Regions from separate parts of the Homo sapiens genome. Here region 1 is linked to region 2. Evidence: promoter capture Hi-C in 16 types of primary human blood cells and fetal thymus (Javierre and others, 2016). All regions are on one chromosome and are shown on one strand. Each heading gives the region's core, a stretch centred on a gene start or on the middle of the fragment in contact. The rest is flanking DNA. Distances are from core to core; before and after follow the strand shown. Region 1 has its middle 54 kb from the start of CDCA2. Region 2 holds the start of PPP2R2A (protein phosphatase 2 regulatory subunit Balpha).

Evidence for each region. The method cuts DNA at HindIII sites, captures the fragments that hold promoters and counts their contacts. A CHiCAGO score of 5 or more calls a contact.
Region 1: a fragment that was not itself captured here is called in contact with the fragment with the promoter of PPP2R2A in region 2 in 4 of 17 cell types (total B cells, megakaryocytes, naive B cells and 1 more); the score reaches 7.2 in total B cells.

What each region holds. Positions count from the first base shown.
Region 1 is chr8:25,510,863-25,515,849 of GRCh38, reverse strand. No RefSeq gene overlaps it. Among named protein-coding and RNA genes, the nearest start is that of CDCA2, 54 kb to the right of the region's middle. The HindIII fragment of the contact is 4,480 bases long and covers 1,468-4,987 here.
Region 2 is chr8:26,288,529-26,293,670 of GRCh38, reverse strand. PPP2R2A (protein phosphatase 2 regulatory subunit Balpha) reads right to left here and starts at 2,163. Exons shown (of 10, transcript NM_002717.4): 1 at 1,845-2,163; 2 at 1-5. The coding sequence starts at 1,851. RefSeq lists a silencer at 2,012-2,361. The HindIII fragment of the contact is 3,300 bases long and covers 1,076-4,375 here.

The sequences.
Region 1 (4,987 bases), core at 2,458-4,957, 780 kb after region 2:
ATAATAAATATATTTTGTCAGGGTCATGAAGCACAATGGCACATTACAAAATGAATCATCTTGATGGTGTAGAATATGTTCTCCCCGCAGATCCAAAGCAGGGAACACTTAACAGCCTAAGTGAGGGGGGTTGGAGTCAGTAAACAATGCTGGGGGTTGCATCAGAAAGGAGCCATTGATGCTTCCTACAGTGGAGGCCTTAGGGACGGTAGAAGGCTACTGTCAAGGGGGTTTTGGTGCATATTCGCTGGGTCTGATATTTCTAGAATTCTCAGATTCTTAGTGGTCTCTAAATGTTTAAATACTTAAATTCAAGCATTTATCACTCTTTGGGGACCTCTGTAGAATTTATTTACATTTGGAGTTACTATTATCAGAGTTCATTTAAAAAATATTTGCAAAAAGTAGTCTATTTAAAAGTATTACCACAAATGCAATTTCTTAAGACAAATCTCCAACTTTTTAGAAAGAATGCCACCTGCAAGCTGTAAATATGTGCATTAATTTTTCCCCATAGTATTTGCTTTGGCTGTGACCTATCCGAATACTCAGTTGAACAAGGGCTAAAAATTGTCAAACCGAATTCTTGCTTGAGAGCTGAACTCTTAACTACAGCCAGTTTGAGAGAAACACATATCCAGGTTTAGGGAATATGTTTTGTTTGTTTTGGCTATGACATAGGGCAGAACAGTTTCCATCCCTTCGAATGCATTCAAGAGAGTCTGAAATATTGCACAATAAAAGCCATTCATTATATCTGTCTCCTTTCCCTTCCAAAAACAAAAATGGCTGCCCGGTTCCAAATCTACACAGGGGGCAGGAAGAAGGGAGGCAGAGGGTCACTGGAAATCACCCAAGACTAACACCAGGTTTTTCAGGTTTGAGTCAGGGAATACTTCTGCAATCTTCATTCCCAGCGTTTACTTAAAAAAGAAAAGACAAGACTGGCTGCTTTATTGATTATTCCTCTGTTGTGAACAATTAGAAAATGGACATACTGTATTTTGTACAAACGTTAGGCAGAAAATCTTACATTTTACTTTCGAGTGATTGGCATCCAAACTAAATGTACTTGAACTGAAAAAATCCCATTTTACTCATCTTCTCTATAACGTTTCAACTGTTTGACCCCCATTTTATACTGAAAAATTATTCCCATGTTTGAATCAGACATAGGGATGAACCTATTTTTGCAAGCACCTGCTACTTAGCAGTTATGTGATGTGAAAAAAGAAGAAATTATTGACATTTACTTCCTTGTTTCAACAAGGACCTGGGATATGAGAACACTGGGAATGCAGTTTGTTTTTCAAAAGCAAAAGAAATGCCAGTATCAGATCACTGTATTTGACATTATAAAATATTATCAAAGTGGAAGAATTTTTAAAGCAAACTTTAAGACAGTGAATAAACCATGAGAATAAATTATTAGATATGGCAAATATATGTACTTTTAAATTCCAAGCTTAAAAATTCACACACATACACTTAAGAATTTGGAACTTCAAAAACTTAAGATAATTTGACATTTCTTCAATTACATCTAAAACCAAAATGTTAGCTGTTTGCATCCCTGAAGGCAACTTATTATCACAGAACATAAATCAAGATAGTCAATTTGTATGCCTAGGATAAATGAGAAAAAGACTTAGTCAGCTTTCCAGGTGGTCACCGGAAATTTTGTGATGAAATCCCAACTTACCCTTTAGAAAATGCAAACCTGTATTCTTCTTTAATGTAAATGCTTATTTATTTTCTCTTTTCATGTAAGAGATATAACGCTTACAAAGTATCAAAAAATTAAAAGCAGTTTCAGAAAATATTTGCTTCTCAATTGCCTAGAAATTTCTAAAAACCTTTCTAATAAATCTTTAAGGTCATATCAAAATCAGGCTAAGTATGATCTTGGTTGAAGATGTGGAACAGAAATATGTATCAGTTGAAAGGCAGTAATTACTTATCTTCTCATTTAAGCTATGTTACTCGCAGTCTGTAACACAATTTCATAAACAGAAAAGCATCAAAGAATATGCAAAAATGAACACACCTGCACAATATTAGACAAACTTGAAACTATTAGGCCATAGTATGTTAGTAATTAACCCATTCTAGAGCTAAATCAAGGCTATGCAATAATCTTCAAATAAATTTAAGACACCCCAAAAGGGGGATGTACAATTATTTGCTGTAATTTAATCCCAATTCCACTCACTTGGTCTAGGACTCCAAACCCACAGTGAAACCCTTTAGACACACTACAAAGACACCCAATAGTATGAGACAGAAATGCCTAAGCAATTGAGAACAGAGCAGGTTTCTTTAAAATTTTAGGTACAATTCACAACTTGTAGTCTAGTTTCAAATCCATGCTTTTCCAGATGTATTTATAGGTTAGAATTTAATGAAAGTTAAAAAATACTTAAAAGAAAAACATGAGATGAAGCCAGCCTGTATCACCTAGTCTCAGTTTAATGAATAATGAAATTATTGAATAATAATCAAAGGAGATTTGGAATGGGATGTGCCTTTTGGGTCCCCATTCCTCTAAAACTCCTATTAGTGAATTTGGCTCAAGCATCACTTATTCTGGAAAGAAACTAAACTTGCGTGATCTGAAGGTTGATACCCCCTGGAGGGCTGACAGGTTGGGGTATCTCTTTTTTATCATACCCTGTATTGTAATTTTGTCCCCTTACAGAAAGAAAACTGAGCATCTTGAAAGCAATTTTATTTAGAAATTAATGCCTGGCACATAGTAGTTGTTGAATAAATGGCTGGCAAATTATTTTATTAATGAGTCCATAATCTGCCTACCTAGAATGAGCTGGTGCAGGAAAATTTTCCTACATTAGGAAACAATCCTCAAATGCTAAGGTTACTGAGTAAGGACAGTGACATTTATTATTTATTTGAGAAAGGGTCTCGCTGTCACTCAGGCTGGAGTGCAGTGGCACGAACATGGCTCACTGTAGCCTCAACTTCCTGGGCTCAAACGATCCTCCCTACCTCAGCCTCCAGAGTAGCTGAAACCAACCATGCCCAGCTAATTTAAATTTTTTTTTTTTTTGTAGAGGAAGGGTCTTATCGTGTTGCCCAGGCTGGTCTCAAACTCCTGGGCTCGAGTAATCCTCCTGCCTTGGCCTCCCAAAGTGCTGGGATTACAAGTGTAAGCCACCATGCCTGGCTAAGTTTTACACTAAATCAAACTATAATACAAACTTCAATTTATGAAAATAAATGAGTCATGCTTATTAGGTAATTTTTTAGCAAATTGAATTTTGAATCTTATTTTAATTCACCTTATTTTCTTACTGCTATACAGAGTAGTGTCCAGAGAGAGAATTACTTCTTGATGACTGAATCTTTTAGTAACTTAGGGTCAAATTTTAAATCATAAACCATAGTAAACTAGTTTCCAGAGGACTAGGCTGAACGCAGAGGCACCCAGAGAAGTTGGTTTCCTTGTTGTGTCTCTGATAGCCTGTCATTGCTGGCTTCACTTCTTGCACCCAAATGGTACTACAAGTCTGGGAATAACTGAAGGCCCCAGACAGATGTGGCTGGTCAACCTTTTGCTTCTTCTGGCCTCCTCTCTACCCTCCAAAAAAACCCCTAAACTATGATTTTAAAAAATCCAAAACTTTCTTATATAGTCACAGTGGTATATTGGTAGAAGAATAGACATACAGATGAACAGAATAATGTCCAGAAATAGATCTACACATATAAGGTCAAATAATTTTAACAGAGGTGCCAATGTAATTCAATGAGAAATGGTTAATCTTTTCAACAAATGGTGTTGAATGATTTCCATTAAAAATAAATAACCCACCTTCATCTCACACAAGAAAATTAATGTGGATCTAACACTTAAGTGAGAGCTAAAACTATAGAACTGGAAGAATACACAGGAGAAAATCTTTGTGCCTTTGAGTTAGACAAAGATTTCTTAGCTAGGACACAAAAAGCATGAACCATTAAAGTAAAAACAAGGTAAACTGGACTTCATCAAAATGAAAATCTGTTCTTCAAAAGACACTGCTAAGCAAATAAAAAGACAAGCCACAGAATGGGAAAAAATATTTTAAGAGACATATCCAATAAAGGATGTGTATCCAAATGTACAGATTCTTTTAACTCAATAACAGTAAGACAATAACAGCAACAACAAACGTGGGCAAGAAATTTGGATAGACATCACAACAAGGAAGATATAAAGATGGCAAATAAGCATAGGAAAGATGTTCAATATCATTAGTCATTAGAGAAATAAATCAAAACCCATGAGAAACTACTGCACACATCCTAGAATGGCTACAATGAAAAAAGGCTAACAATACCAGAGGCTGGTGAAGATGTGGAACAAACAAAACGTGTTGCCAGTGGAAATGCAAAATCATGCAGCCACTATGGAAAAGTTTAGCAGTTTCCTAAAAAGGTAAACATATATTAATACTACCACCATACAGCCCAGGAACCCTACCACTAGATATTTATGCAAGATAAATGAAAACATGTGACTATAAAAAATGATCCATATGTGAATTGTTACAGCAGCTTTATTCACATTAGCCCCAAACCAGAAATAATCGAAATATCCATCAAGTGGTAAACTGATAAACAAGTTTTGGTACATCTATAAAATGGAATAAACAAGTATCAGCAATAAACAAGTATCAACTACTTACAGCATGCAAGCATGGGTGAATCTCAAAAGCATTACGCTAAGCTAAAGACACAAAGGGGTATATATTATATGATCTCATTTGTATGACATTCTGGAGAAGACAGAACTGTAACACTAGAAATCAGATGAGCAGTTGTGAAGACCCGGGGTTGGCAGGTAGAAAATTGACTACAAAGAGGTGGGAGGAATTTTGGGGTGACAGAAATGTCCTATTACTTGATTGTGGCACTGGTTACATGGCTGTATAAATTTGCCAAAATTCTGGATGCTTTAAAAACGCGAACTTCACCGTAGGTTAAT
Region 2 (5,142 bases), core at 914-3,413:
AGCTCCTGGAAAAAGAAAACATACCAATTAAAACCGAGTTCTGCTTATGTTGACTCTCGTAAACACAAAGATGGTATCCATGGTTGGCATGATACTAACAGCCTAGTTCTGCCCACACATACAACTACCACCAAGAGCACCAGTTTGGAAAGAGGTTAGTCCCCAATACTTGGTACTGCATTAGAAAGAAAAAAAAGATTCCAGGTACGAAATATTTAAAGGCACATGTTCTGTGGTCATTAAACATCTGTTCACAAACTTCCTGTCAAATACAGTAAAAGCCTTACATTCAGGCAAGACCTACCAGAAAAAAAGTAAATACCAAGAGTTAAAGAGTTTTCTTAAGTGTACAAAAAGCCTGCAGAAGAGTTAATAAGGTTAAACTACCATGAAACATAGAACGAAGAGAAAACTTCGGGAACATTACTGCCTGGGTAAGGAGTAATGATTCATATGAACCTTATCACCAAAGTGCACACACAGCAAACACTACACCCATTTCTTTGCATTCATTACCAGCAAATCACTGGCTCCAGACAGAGAGGAAAAGAAACCGAAATGAATGCTGCTAAAGAGACTGTCAAAGGAAGCTTGTTCTGCCTCCCTTCACCTCATCCCTTGACTCCAAAGGACCTGGCAAAGAATTCATTTTGCTAATGTCATCTCGTGCAAAACAATTTTAATCTCATTTCATTTTTCAACAAGGCCAACAAGCAACTTGTTTATAGCAAACCGTAAGTCAATCCGACATGTTAACTTTTTCAAAAGGTTTAATTATCTAAATAATGAATACAGCACGGAAAACTGGTCTCATCTCGGAATGTTTCTATTTCACGTGCAAGTACTGAGGTCGAAATGATTGAAAATGTCCTGGGGCTCTAGGGAGAAAGAAACTGAATCTAAATCTGCAACTGATTCTACTACATGAAGGAAAAGATTTAGCAATACCAACATGTACAAAAAGAATTCTCAAAGCAATTACATTACTTCTCTCTCCCCCATCACCCCTATTCCTTGCTAAATTTATTTCCAAACTGGTTTTCTCTCTACATCCTTTCCCCTCCCCTTCAAAGCTTCTACCTAAATCTCTCTCCTCCTTGCTATTTATATCTCTGAACTCCGCAACTATTTTAACTAACTCTACCAAACCCTTTTGGGAAAAGGACATCTGCAAAAAAGCTAACATGCTAAACGCAAAGTTTAAATTATTTTCATGCAACTTGCTGTACATGAAAGGCCTTGCACTCTTCGGCGGTAAAAGGGAAGAAACGGAAACGAAATGGTTCGAAACAAAAAATTTAGGCTTCCAGTCTCAAAAATATTGGCATCTACAGTGGGGAAAAAATACACATATGCCCCCACTGTATTTTAACTTATAAGGCGCTCTTCCTTCTCGAGGCAAAATAAATGTGTATATACACCCAAGAAGGCTTGCAGCAGGGGGAAAAATAGAAATTAAATGAAGACCTGCAGGAAAAAAAAATAAAGGCGGGGGGCAAGGTGGGGAGGTGGGAGAAGATCCACCAGGCTCCCGAGCGGGAGGGACAAATCTGCACGCACCCCCACCCCGCCCCACCCACGCCTCACCCCAAGCTCGCCGGCACACCCCACCCCCACCCCCGCCACGGCGCCAGCCCCGTTCTCCAAGCCCAGTGACTCTCACCGTGACCACTTGCCTCCCGGGAGCCCTCCCCGCCCCCACCCCACCCCTCTGGACCCTACTCCCTCAAACCCGAGGGGCGCCCTGTGGCTCTGCGCGAGGCGCGGGCGGTCGCTAGGGGGTGATGGAGGGAGGAATAAGGAAGCGGTGCCTTGTCAGGGGGCGAGGGGGATTTCTCCTTTACCTGCCATGTTGCGCTGCAAATGGTGACCCTGCTGGGTTCCTCGGGGTCTCCGCTTCCTGAACTCACCCCCCTCACCTGGGGATGGGGGGGTAGAGAGGGCGGATGGCGGCGGATGGCACCTGCGGGGGGAGGGGACGGGGGCCGGGGGGAAAAGGAAGGAGGGGCGGGCAGACCAGCCGGCAGGATGCTAGATTTCACTCTGGGGCTTCCCCGCTCGTGCTCTTTCTCCGGCAGCGGCGGCGGCGACTACGACAGCGACGGCGGCGGCGGCAGCGGCAGGGGCAGGCGACTCCACTTTCAAAATGGCGCCGGCTGGCCTGGCCAGTGACGTCACCTAGGGGGCGGAGCCGCCGGGCTGGGGCGGAGAGCGGAGGGGGAGGGGCGGGGGAGCGGCCGGGCGGCTCTTGGCCACGCCCCCTTCCTGCTGCGCCTGTGCCCCGCCCTCCGTGTCCCGGCCGGCAGGGCCTGCGCCGCGCCAGCGTCTCGCCATGGCATACCCTCTGTCCGCACCGCCTGCGCCAGGCCGCGGCTGTGTGCACCTAGCAGTGTCCCAGCCTCGAGCACTAGCGCCGGGGCTCTGGGGCGGGCTTAGGAGTCCAGTTTACGTGCTCTCCTGCAAGGATTCATGGGGTCCTATGTCTTCTAGGAATACCTGGGCCGGGCACGGTGGCTCATGCCTGTAATCCCAGCACTTTGGGAGGCTGAGGCGGGCGGATCACAAGGTCAGGAGTTCGAGACCAGCCTGGCCAACATGGTGAAACCCCGTCTCTACTTAAAAATATACAAAAATTAGCCAGGCGTGGTGGTGTGCGCCTGTAATCCTAGCTACTTGGGAGGCTGAGGTGTGAGAATTGCTTGAACCCGGGAGGCAGAGGTTGCAGTGAGCCGAGATCGCACCACTGCACTCCAGCCTGGGTGACAGAGCAAGACTCCGTCTCAAAAACAAAAAACAAACAAACAAAAAACCCCGTACTGCTTCTTAGGAAATTGTCACTTTGGATTAGCCCTGAGACCACAAAGAAAGGGACAGCGGTGCAGACTTACTGCTCAGCCGGGGTGAAAGTTCACGGGGTTCAGAGGGACACGATTGGGCTGGTTCTATCTGGGTGAATTAAATTACCTTCTCGTGGGCCCCAGGATCCAAGGCGGGAGTCCTAGGCACTGCGGACACTAAGAGTGATTTCTAAGAGAAACCTGAGTTTGTGATGAGAGGGTATGGCCCAAGAAGTGACCCGGCGTCTCTCCAGCTAAACGTGTTGGACTGCGTGCTTAAGAGCTGGGCTCAGGGCCGGGCGCGGTGGCTCACGCCTGTAGTCCCAGCACTTTGGGAAGCCGAGGTGGGAGGATCGCTTGAGGCCAGGAGTTCCGAGTTCGGCCTGGAGAACATAGGGAGACCCATCTCTCCAAAAAAAATTTTTTTTTTTAAATTAGCCAGGTATGATGGCGTGCCTATAGTCCCAGCTACTAGAAGGCTGCAGTAGGAGGACTGCTTGAGCCCAGTAGGTCAAGGCTGCAGTGAGCTATGTGATCACATCACTGCACTCCAGCCTGGGAGACAGAATGCGATCCTGTCAAAACAAAAACAAAAACACAAAAAGTGCTGGGCTCTGAAGCCAGGCTGCCTAATATGATTCCAAGGCTCAGGAGATGAAGATGACAGTCCTACCTGATAGGATTGTTGGGGAGATGAAATGACTTAATTTGAGCACATGATAAATGTTAGCTGCCGTTATTATTAGATTTGTATTGAAAGCATCGTCAGTAAGGTTAAGAGGTAGAAGGAAAAAAATGAACAGGAAATGCCAGTCATCAGCTATGAGGGGATGTGCACTTCTGTTGAAAGATGCTCTAATGATGCAGTTGCTATATACAGCACACTTTACATATCCCATTCCATCTCCACGATACTCCTAGGAGATAGATATGCACATTTTACACGTGAAAAACACCTGTAAAAGCATCCAGAATTTGGCCTAAGGCTGAATGGAGTGATAAAGGCGTTTGGAAACCAAGAAGGGGGAGTTAAAGATATTTACACGTCCTCCCCACCATCTCCACTTTCTACCATATTTTTGATTTCCAGGACAGTTGAACTGTAATGCAACGTTCAAAATTCCTTCAAAGGAACAACTGCACCACTGCATGATCATTCCTCTGTTTCTGCATGAATATTTCCCACGTTACCAATGAATTAATCAAAACTAAAAATCCACCCTCTATGTGTCATCTTTTGGCTACCTGTACAACAGGTACAAAACTTCAGTGCACTGCGTGCTGTATTTTCTTCAATGCTGGTGTTTTTCATAAATGTATTTCTCTGGGTATGCCTTCATTTATTTTCCTTTTTGCTTGCTCTGCCCTTCTTTGGTGGTTCAATCCCAGACTCTCCAGGGAGAGCTCTCCATCTTAACCAGAACCCAGAAGGAAGGAGAGAGAGAGAAAGGAAGACAGAAAAAGAGAATATAGACTTTACATACCCTGAAAATGATTTGGTTTACATAAATGATTTGTTCTTAGAAGCCAATAAAGCTTGCCTAGAAACTGGGATAATTATAACAAAAATGTATATAGCACCGACTTTGTGCCAGGTGCTGTTTTAAGAACATTATTTGGAGCCTTGGGGGTACTGCATGCCTGTGGAATGGGCTGACTTGGGTCTGATAATCAAGGGCCAGTGCACCCTGGCACCCTGGTGTAAACGACCTGGCTCTTTTTGGGCCCTGGTCAGCCCTTTCAGAGGACCATAAGCCACCTCCCTTTCATCAGAATGGCCATTAGGAGGAGAGGCCAGAACACCCGCTAGCCCAGAGTCAAGGGTTGCTCTTGTCCATCTCACTTCCATATCTATCTTCCACTTAAAAAAACATTTTTGCCAGGCACGGTGGCTCACGCCTGTAATCCCAATACTTTGGGAGGCCAAGGCAGGTGGATCAGCTGAGGTTGGGAGTTCAAGACCAGCCTGACCAACATGGAGAAACTCCATCTCTACTAAAAATACAAGAAAAATAGCCTTGTGTGGTGGTGCGTGCCTGTAATCCCAGCTACTCGGGAGGCTGAGGCAGGAGAATCGCTTGAACCAGGGAGGCGGAGATTGTGGTGAGCCGATATCAAGCCATTGCACTCCAGCCTGGGCGACAAAAAGCAAAACTCCCTCTCAAAAACAAAAAAAAACAAAACTTTTTTTTCTTTTAAAGACAGAGTCTAGCTCTGTCACCCAGGCTGGAGTGCAGTGGCATGATCATATCTCACTGCAGCCTCAAACTCCTGGGCTCAAGTGATCCTCCTGCCTCTGTCTCCC